Regions from separate parts of the Homo sapiens genome. Here region 2 is linked to region 1. The links are contacts of gene promoters, found by promoter capture Hi-C in blood cells and fetal thymus (Javierre and others, 2016). All regions are on one chromosome and are shown on one strand. Each heading gives the region's core, a stretch centred on a gene start or on the middle of the fragment in contact. The rest is flanking DNA. Distances are from core to core; before and after follow the strand shown. Region 1 holds the start of ZSCAN20 (zinc finger and SCAN domain containing 20). Region 2 holds the start of FNDC5 (fibronectin type III domain containing 5).

Region 1 (5,028 bases), core at 633-3,132:
AAAATCAAGATGTCTTTACAAACACAGGGAAGCTGAGGGGCATCTTGACTCCTAGGGCAGTAAGTATGAACGTGGTCATGAGGAGCCCACTCAGTGAAAAGGGAAGAGAAGATGCTCTCCAGTTCCACAGGAAAGGCCAAGACTGGTCTGTGACCTCCAAAGAGAAAAAACTGGGAACTCTTAAAGGCTGTCAGGCCCATTTGGCTGACAGTCCAAGCTATGGCTTAAAGCAGTCTGACCTGACCTCACACATAAGGGCTTAAGCCAGGGAGAGCAAATAGGTTTCATTTAAAGCAGAAACTTCAATCAACTGGAAGTGGCTGCCTAGAGTAGTGTGCTGAGGGCTCTGAGTACAGTGTGAATATGTGCTGAGAACCAACCAATTAGCCATGACTGCCAGGGACACAGGAAGGGGCACTGGCAGCACACATTCCATGTATTTGTCACCCCTGGCTTAAACTCCCATTGGCAATGAATCAGCTTCAGCTTCCAGCAGATAGCCTTGCCAGGCAGAGGAAGACTAAAGCTCCTGCCCTGGAAATCCACTGGCAATAGAAGTCTTCAAGGCTGGTATAGCAAAGCTTACCCTGCATGGTCTTCATTCACACATACATACATCAAGTATTTACTGCTTTACATCAAGTGTTTACTGCTCTAGACTGGGCAATGGGGAAACAGAGGTGATTGAGACACTGTTCCTGTCCTGGAGATGTTCACAGTCTAATGGAAGAGACACACACTTCACAGATAATTATGATCAAATGTGGTAATAGGAGAAGTTATGGGAGCTGAGGGTTGGGGGTGACTTAATTTGCTTAAGGGAATTGAGCAAAGTAAGAGTTGAAATTTTTTTAAGTTAAAGAAGTTCTCTTGGCAAAGAAGGTGAAGGGCAAGGAGAGAATATTCTAAGCTGAGAGAACAGCATATATAATGATGGAAAACCAAATGGCCTACCCAGGAAACGAGGAAAACCTTGACAGCCCTGGAGTGTGAGGTGCATGAAGATTAGGCTGCAAAAGGAGTTTATGAAGGACAAGGTGTTTGGACTTTACAGGTGCTGGGTGCCAATGAAAGTTTTCAAGCAGAAGGCATAATCAGATTTGTAGGTGAAACAGATCACACTAGGTGCAATGTGTGTGTTCATGCTGGGAAACTGAAAAGGCTTCTGCGAAAACCCTACAAGAAAGAGGCCGACTGAAAAGATATTAAAGAAATTAAAGATCGGAAGATCCTTGGACGTGGAAGAATGCAAGAGGAATCAGTGGGTAAGTAGGTAGGTAGGTAGGTAAATGGGATGATCGTGCCACTGACTTCCATAAGACATAAGGAAAGAAGTGCAGGTTTGGGGCAGAACACAATAGCCAGTCCCATCCACTGGGTTCCAGAGGTAACAATCATTAGGGAGGTAACAAATTAGATATGCTTGTTCTAGATGGGAAGGTAGAGATTGAAACACTATTTTTAAGGTCGGGCTTCAAGCTCAGGCCCTCTTCACTTCTTGCCAGGGCCCCAGACCCTCTATCCTTTCCTCTGTGGTCTCCAGACCTTTCTATGACTCTCCCACCTCCAAAACCTCCCTCAACCCCCTCACCTTCAGACCCTTCTAAGGCCCTCCTCATTCCCAGGGCCCTCTATCGCCTCCTCATCCCCGACCCCTGTATGACCCTTCCCATCTCCGGCCTCTACATCCTTTGACCGTCCCTCACCCTCCACCCCCACATATAAGCTTCTTTCTCCCCTCTCACCTTCCCCAGCCCCCTGTGTCACCACCACCTCCTAAGTCTCCAGCCCAGAGCCTGCGTCTCAGCTGCCCCCGCCCCGCCACCCGGACTCACCCACCGAGACACCCACTTCACAACAGGGCGGAAGTGCTCCCGGGCTCGTGCGGGGAATGCTGGGACGCGGAGTCCGAGCGGCGCCACCCTGGGAATGGAACGTCTGAGACCACAATTCCCAGAAGGAACCGCGCGAGCGCCGGGGGCGGCCCCCTCCGTTTGCTGCCTTTCAGACGTCTTCAGCCAATAGATATGTCATCTTCTAACGGACCCTGGCACTGGAACAAATCGGAACGGGCGCGACACATGGGGGCGGGACCTGTTGCGATCCTGGCCTTTTCCATAGGCTTCCGGATAACAGCACCGCCCAATGGGAGGGCACTCGAGCAGAAGGGGGCCCAGTTCTACTGAGGGGTCGAAGTGAGAGCCTCAGACCCTGAAAGATCAAAGCAGACACAATAAGAAATAAGAAGAGAGAATGACTAGAGGTGACCAGCCCGATAGGCAGGAGAGAACTGGACAGTTGTAGCTTTAATTTCCAGCTTACAGCTAAGCTGTGTGACTTTGGAAGAATTCTGAACCTCGTTCTCTTCAACCATAAAATGAGGGTAGTAATGGCATCCATGTCACAGAGTTTTGTGAACTTTCAATGAGATAATACACCTAAAACGATTAGCTCAGGGCCTGGCTCCTAATAATGCACAGCGATTGTTAGCTATTATTATGTAAATCAGTTAGTACAGAGCTTGGCACTTCCTAGGTGTTGGAAGAATGTTAATCATTATTACAAAATAATCCTCATATAAATGCGGGTGCTCTGTACCACTGTGAATACTTTGGGGCATGAACAATCTAATGTGGTGTTGAGAATGGGGGCTTTGTAGTCAGACATGGATCCAAATCCCAACTCAACTACTTCGCAGCTGTGTGGCCTTGAACAAATTACTGCCATCTATTTTGTCTTTGGAATTTTCATCTATAAAATGCAAGTAATGTAAGAGAACTTACATCACAGGGTGTTATGAAGGTTAAATGAGACTATTTAGGTAAAAGTCTCTGAAGTCAAGCTGCTTGTGTCTGAAAGTTCTTACTTTCAAATGAAGGATGCAGGTCATACCACCCGCGTTGTGAAACCTTGGGCAAATTACTTAGCTTCTTTATGCCTGCATTTTCCCAGCTGTAAAATGGGAATGATAATACTTGCCTCTTCCTGAGACAGTTGTTGAGAGGAATAAATGGGAGAAGGTATGTAAAGAGCGTGACACATGTCTGACACACAGAAAGTGTTTAATAATCATTAGCTAGTCCAGGCACGGAGGCTCATGCCTGTAATCCCAGCCCTCTGGGAGGCTGAGACGGAAGGATCGCTTTAGTCCAGGAGTTTGAGACCAGCCTGGGCAGCGAAGTGAGACCTCGTCTCTATTTTAAAAAATAGAAAATACAATAATATACATAATCATTAGCTATTATTATTATTACCAATGGTTATGCGGCTTAGGGAAAATTGACAATACCTAGCATCTGGTAAGAGCTCAATGCATGTTGGCTAGTGTTAAAATAGGAGAATTCTTAGCTTTAACGACCCAGTTTAAATTCCTTCTCTGTGAAACATGTTCCAACTTATTTGTAGTAATAACTCATGTGATTTTACTCAGTAAACATAATAACAACCCGTAAATACTCCTTGGTGTTGAAGTCTCACAGTAGCCCTATGAGATTGGTATTGTTTGCTCCACTTTACAAAGAGGGAATGAGACTTAGAGAAACGAAGTGACCTACTCAAGATCACAGAGCCAATAAGAACCAGGGCTGCGATTTGTCACCCCCTAGGCATGTGACTCCAAAGGTCCTACACTGCATGAGGAAGAGACCATATGTGGAAGTAGGAGGGTTTGAGATGGGGAGGGACAGTGCAACAGTGTGGGGTGCCAAGGGAGCCGGAAACATTTGAGAGAGTGTCAGGATCTGAAGCTGGAGAGGCAGCTTTGCAGGGTCAGGTAAGGACGTGTCCACTTCAGCATCATCTGCCCTAAGAGGAAGAAGGGAGGCGAGTGTGCAGAGAGAGGAGAGGACATCATTAGGACACAAGAGGGCGCGCCTCGCCCTCAATACAGCCTCGAATTATTCTATGGTTTCCCTTAGCCTTTGTCTAATTAAAGCCTGGCATTCTACAGAAGAGAAAAAACTAACGAAGTCCTCAAGAGGCCAACTGCCCTTTAGTGCCGTGTAGAAATAAGCAACAGAGCCTGAACCTGTTCCAGGTTCTCTCTGGTTCAGCACCCATCAGGATTTGGTTTGCAAGCGTTCTGTCTGCATTTGTCTACCAGGACTCTCTCTGATTTGGGCAGACACTAGGCTCTAAGGATGCAGAGATGAAGCAAACCTGGTCTCTGACCCCAGGGCCTGATCTCTAAACTTTCCCAATAGAGCGCTCCCATAAGTGAAGCCTTTTTGAGTTTTTGAGTTGAGCACACACTCCCAACATATGTGTATTTATTTACTTATAAATGATGTGCCTGTAATAGCTAACTTTCCTTGAACATTTGCAATGCATTATTAGGTCCTTCTCTCAGTGCTTTATATGTATTAACTCATTTAATACATCCAAAACCCTTTGAGGGAGAGTCTAACACTATCCCATATTACAGAAAAGGAAACTATGGTATAGAGAGGTTAAATAACATGCTAACGGCACGTGGCTAAAAAAGCAGGCAGTCTAGCTTCAGAATAAGGTAAGATTTTTAAAAAATAGAAATAGAAGTTATAACAGTTTCTTTGCAACCATAGTGTGATAATCTTGTGCACTCAGCTTTGGAGACCACTATTTCTGTGGCTTTCAGGCCTGTGATCAGTCCTTTGAGAAAGGGAGGTGCAGGAAATTGTGGGAGCCCAGGGGCAACAGTTATCTAGGCTGGGAGATCAGGAAAGGCTTCTGAAGAAAGTGATGGCTGAACTGCATCTTAAATAATACTTAAGAGTTCCCCAGGGAAAAGGTATTTTTCAGTGCAAGAACAGCATATGCAATGGCCCAGAGACAAAAGGTGTGATGATGTCCTGGGACCCACAGGTAGTCTAGCATAGTCAGAGTACAGAGTGACAAGGGGGTAGGCTTCTCCTCCCAGTGTTGCTATGAGGCTTAACTGGAGATAGATGGGAACAGGCCTTCATGTTTTTTATTGAGGGAACAGGCAATCAGTCTGCTGTCTCCTGGGCAGCATCCCAGCTTTTTGATCCTTAGCTGCCAATCCCTCTA
Region 2 (4,753 bases), core at 2,081-4,580, 600 kb after region 1:
TGGCTCACGCCTGTAATCCCAGCACTTTAGGAGGCTGAGGTGGGTGGATCACCTGAGATCAGGAGTTCGAGACCAGCCTGGCCAACATGATGAAACCCCGTCTCTACTAAAAATAAAAAAATTAGCCAGGCATGGTGGTGGGCACCTGTAGTCCCAGCTACTCAGGAGGCTGAGGCAGGACAATCACTTGAACCTGGGGAGCAGAGATTGCAGCAAGCCAAGATCACGCCACTGCACTCCAGCCTGGGCAAAAGAATGAAACTCCGTCTCAAAATAAAATAAAACAATAACATGGATAAAGTAGGTGCTCAATTATTATATCCCCAAAGCAACTCCTGACCTCCTGATTCTTCCTGTGATTTGCAGGGCGGGTGAGGGGTGTCTAGTGACCATCCTTGACTGGGGCCATGACCATCCTAGGCTATAAAAAGGAAACTTCCTATTCTAAATGGGTACCCGGGGCTGGCTTGGGCACCTGCAGCCTGAGTTAGGTGCTGAGACTCTGGACACGCAGGAGGGTCCAAATGCTGGTGACCCCATTAGGTGTCAATGTGTAAGTGACCGGCCAGCCCTCAAGGGGGTCTCTGTGGAGTCCTCCAAATGAAGCCCAGTGAGTGCAGCTTGGGAGGACAGAGGCGCACCCTTAGTCCCTACCCAGGTCCTCATGGTTTCACTCATTCTTTCACTGCTGTGTTTCCAGAATATTACACAGGGCCTGGTCCATAATAGGTGCTCAATAAACATATGATGGAAGAATGATTTTTTTTCCATACAGTCAACAATCATTTAATGAGCCCCAACTGCATCGTAAGCCTTGCGCTAAGGGATGGGGTACATAAAGTGGCTGGGTTTTTTTGAGATGGAGTCTTTCTCTGTCACCCAGGCTGGAATGCAGTGGTGTGCTCAGCTCACTGAAACCTCTGCATCCCAGGTTCAAATGATTCTCATGCCTCAGCCTCCAGAGTAGCTGGGATTACAGGCACACACCACCATGCCCGGCTAATTTTGTATTTTTAGTAGAGACGGGGTTTCACCATGTTGGCCAGGCTGGTCTCGAACTCCTGACCTCAGGTGATCCACCCACCTCGGACTCCCACAGTGCTGGGATTACAGGCGTGAGCCAGCGCCCTGGCCTGCAGTGGCTGCTTCTGACAGCTCCCTCCCAAGTTCACCCAGGGCTCCACTAAATCCTCCCAGCCAGCTCTCACTGGCTGCCAGATTCCAGGCACCAGGGCTTTCCCCAGAATTAAGGCCCAAGCACCCCATGCATCATGAGGACTGAGAAGGCTGTACCCCCACAGTCACAACTCTCCAAATCCTCCAAGCCCCCTCCTTCAGCCGCCTTCTCTCTCAAGCCCTCAGGCACTGCCATCTCCTCCCTCCCAATGCCCTACATCTATCTAGGTTTTACCCAAAGAGGCCAGCAGATGGCGCCAAGGTTCCCCTTTCCCCAGCGCTGGACTGGAGGCCAAGACCCCACCAGGACCCTCCCTCCTTTTCTCCCCTGCAGGGACGGGAGTAGATTCTGTGTCCTCTAACTGAACCCTCTCCTTCCTGCTGGTTCCTGTGCTGGAGGCCTGAAGAGGCTCCAGTTGCTCCTGCGGGCCTCCTGGTTGTCTTCCTGTCTGATGGATGGGGGGTGGGGGGTCCCTAGGGGCTAAGCTGCAGCTGGTGGGGCGGGGCCGGGTGGGGTGGGGCAGGCAGCAGCTGCGGGGAGAAAGAGAGAGAAGATAATAAGGGGAGAGAAAGAGAAAGAGAGCAAAGAGAAAAGAGAGAGAGAGGTGCTCTGGCTCCGGGGCTCTTCTCCCAAACGGGTCGAGGTCCCAGCTGAGGCTCTCCCAGGACAAGGTATGTGGCGGGGGAAATGATAGGGCTGGGCAGTGTCACCCTGCCGAGTGGGGCAGGTCTGGGGGCACTGAGGGGATGGGCAGGAAAATTCTGCTGCTCAACAAGAGCCCCTAAGCTCGCTTCCATCTCACCCCTTCCAAGGTGACCAAGGAGGAACACAGGGCCAGCGAAGGAGTCCTGGGTGGGCATAAGGAGAGGAGGGTTGTCTATCGCTCCTCTTGACCCACTGTGTGAATCTGCACCAAGCTCTTCCCATCGGTAGACCTCACTTCCTTAATGTAAAACCAGGGGGATGGAGAGGAAGACCCTGAAGACGTTTCTGTGGCAGAACTTTGCAAGACGTCTCCTTTCCAAAGAAAATTAGCCCTTCCAGGGCTTCTGGAAAACCTTTAAGACCCAAAGGAATGCCCCGCTAGTAGTGGAATTTCGGATAGTCGTGGGAGGGGGCTCAGGGGTTCTTGCTGAGACAAAAGGCCCTGAGCCCTGGTCCATGCCTCTCTCCTCCACCTTGTTTCTCTGGCTGAGATGAGGGAAGGGGGCTGGAGCCACTCCCCTTCTCAGAGATGCTCTTAGAGATTGCTGCAGACTGTTTTCTGGCTGGGGAGGAGCTGGCCCCGGCCAATTCTAGAGTCTCACGAATCTCCGGATGGGTGAAGTCACTCTGGGTGGGGAGACAGTTCAGTTAAGCACAGCTTTGGGAGTCAGATCAGCCTGTGTTCAAATCCTGGCTCTGCTGCGGGTCCCTGGACAAGTCAAGTAGCCTGTCCAAGCTGCAGGCTCCTCCTGTGCAAAGTGTGCAGAGTATGACTTTACAGGGTTGCCCTGAGAATTAAGCCACATAATGCAAAGAAAGCTCAGCATAGTATCTGGCCCCTGGTAGACGCTCATTACTGCCCTCACTATGGGGATGAAAATGAAGGAAAAGGACTGGCCTGGGGTCACAGAGCTGGACTCTCCAGTGAGACAGAGCAGCCTCTTCCCAACCCCACTGGAAACACGGAGCCCTAGTGTCCACTTAGCACTCTCTGCTCACCCCAGCCTTACTGTGATCTCTCCCCTCTGCTCCCGTCTGCCCCAGCCGCAAGGCCTCGGGTCTACCGTGGAATGAGGGGATCCCTAGGCCCAGGGAAGGGAGGCGCGCTTAGGGGTGGGGGCACAAACGGGCATCTCGGTGGCACTTGTCCTCTCTCTACCCTGGGAAAGGGCAGAAAGCGGCAGCCAAGTCAGGGCTGTGCACGGGAGAGAGAGTGACCGCGGCGGGGGCGCGGAGAACCCCGCTGGGCTCCCGCTCGGTGAGAGGGCGGGAGCCGTGGGTCCGCGAAGCCCCTTCCTCCCCGGCAGAGGACCTAATAGGCAGCGGGGGCGGGAGTGGGGGCGCCCTCCGGTCCTCACCCCGCCCCCGCACCTCTCCCCGCAGCGGGGGCGCCCCGCCCCCCGGGCGCCCGACGTGGACGCGGCCGCCGCCACCGCCGCCGCGCGGGAGTCGCTGTCCGCGGAGCCGACATGCAGGCGGCTCGGGGCGGCGCAGGGCGGCCGGAGCGGCCGGGCCGGCCGGGCCGGGGGCCGGAGCGCGAGCGCGAGCGGCCGCCGGGCGCCGGAGCCGCGTCCCCCTGCGCCGCCCCGGGCCTGCCGGCCGGAGGAGCCACCATACACCCCGGGTCGCCGAGCGCCTGGCCGCCCCGCGCCCGCGCCGCGCTCCGCCTGTGGCTGGGCTGCGTCTGCTTCGCGCTGGTGCAGGCGGGTAAGGGGGCCCGGGGCGGGGGGCCGGCGCCGGGGCAGGCTCCTCTCGAGCCCAGCTACCTGGGAGTCCCCTGGTCCTTTCTCTGCCCCCTAGGGACTCCTGTCTCGGCCCAAACACTGCTCCCCTAACCCAGCCCCCAGCGTCTTCCTACCTCCTTGACCCCCAGACCTGTCCTTCAGTTTCCAAATCTCCCCTGTCACCTCAGCCCTGGGTTTCCTAGGGTCTTGTGGTCCCCAGTCCCCTAATCCCATTCCCCTAACCCCAGGTCTTTGCCTCAGCTTCCCTAGCTCCCTTCTTTGACCCAGGGAGCAGCTGAGGACACCAGTTCCCCCACCTGGGCCTCTCTCTGTGTCCCCAGGACCTCTCAAAGCCCTGCAAGCCAACTCTGCAGGGGCAGATGGGGTCCCGCTGTGCAGGAGCACGTGTGAAGGGGATGGGGGCTGGCACCTGAGGGCGCAGGGCGTGGGGTGGGCCCCGGCACCCCTGATCTGGTACAGTGTCTGGCCTGCCCCATGGGGCCGGCCCGTCCTTGCCCAGCCTCTCCTGCCACTCTGTCTTTGTCCCTCCTGGCTGCCGCTGCCCGGCTCATCTCTCCCTCCGTGGCTCGGGGAGCGCTCTCTCGCAGCTGTCTTTCTCAGATGCCCCACTTCTCTGTCCTCTGGTTCTGTGTCTGCCACCACCTGTCTGTGTCCTGTCTCTCCACCTCCCCCTCCATGTCTGGCTCTGTCTCCCTCAGGTCCCAGGCCCAGCCCCCTGGGTCTCAAGTTCACTCTCTGTGGGGTGAGGGGTGCTGCTCAGGCGCAGCTCTGCCCCGTGCTGCACCTGCCCCTTGGAAGATACTGAGCCTTATGTGACTGCACTGCCCCTCTCCTGGACGGTTTTCCTCACTGACCCCCACTATCCCTATCACTCTCACCCCCACTTCCCTCCTGTCTCTTCTGGAGTGATTCCTCATTCATCCTCTTCCCCTACCTGTTCTCTCCTCTCCACTCGCCATGGAGGGGCCCTGCTCTGAGTGACCCCATCTTCCCCTGCCACCTCCCCACCTGCATCTTGGGGCTGGAAGAGCATGGATAAGAGGCTCACACAGACTCTTCCGCAGGCTTTATTCTGCCTGGGCCACCACAGCTCTGAGGATACTTCTGTTCTCCTCACTCCCAGTCC

What was found. Contacts are between HindIII fragments. The CHiCAGO score rates a contact against its expected background, and 5 or more counts as called.
Region 2: the fragment with the promoter of FNDC5 here is called in contact with the fragment with the promoter of ZSCAN20 in region 1 in 3 of 17 cell types (fetal thymus, total CD8 T cells and total CD4 T cells); the score reaches 6.2 in fetal thymus.

The regions. Positions count from the first base shown.
Region 1 is chr1:33,469,499-33,474,526 of GRCh38, reverse strand. It overlaps ZSCAN20 (zinc finger and SCAN domain containing 20), which reads right to left and starts at 1,882. Exons shown (of 8, transcript NM_001377376.1): 1 at 1,836-1,882. RefSeq lists a silencer at 3,625-3,919. The HindIII fragment of the contact is 14,362 bases long and covers 1,729-5,028 here.
Region 2 is chr1:32,869,489-32,874,241 of GRCh38, reverse strand. FNDC5 (fibronectin type III domain containing 5) reads left to right here and starts at 3,330. Exons shown (of 6, transcript NM_001441683.1): 1 at 3,330-3,589. The coding sequence starts at 3,352. RefSeq lists an enhancer at 706-1,562. The HindIII fragment of the contact is 9,260 bases long and covers 1-4,753 here.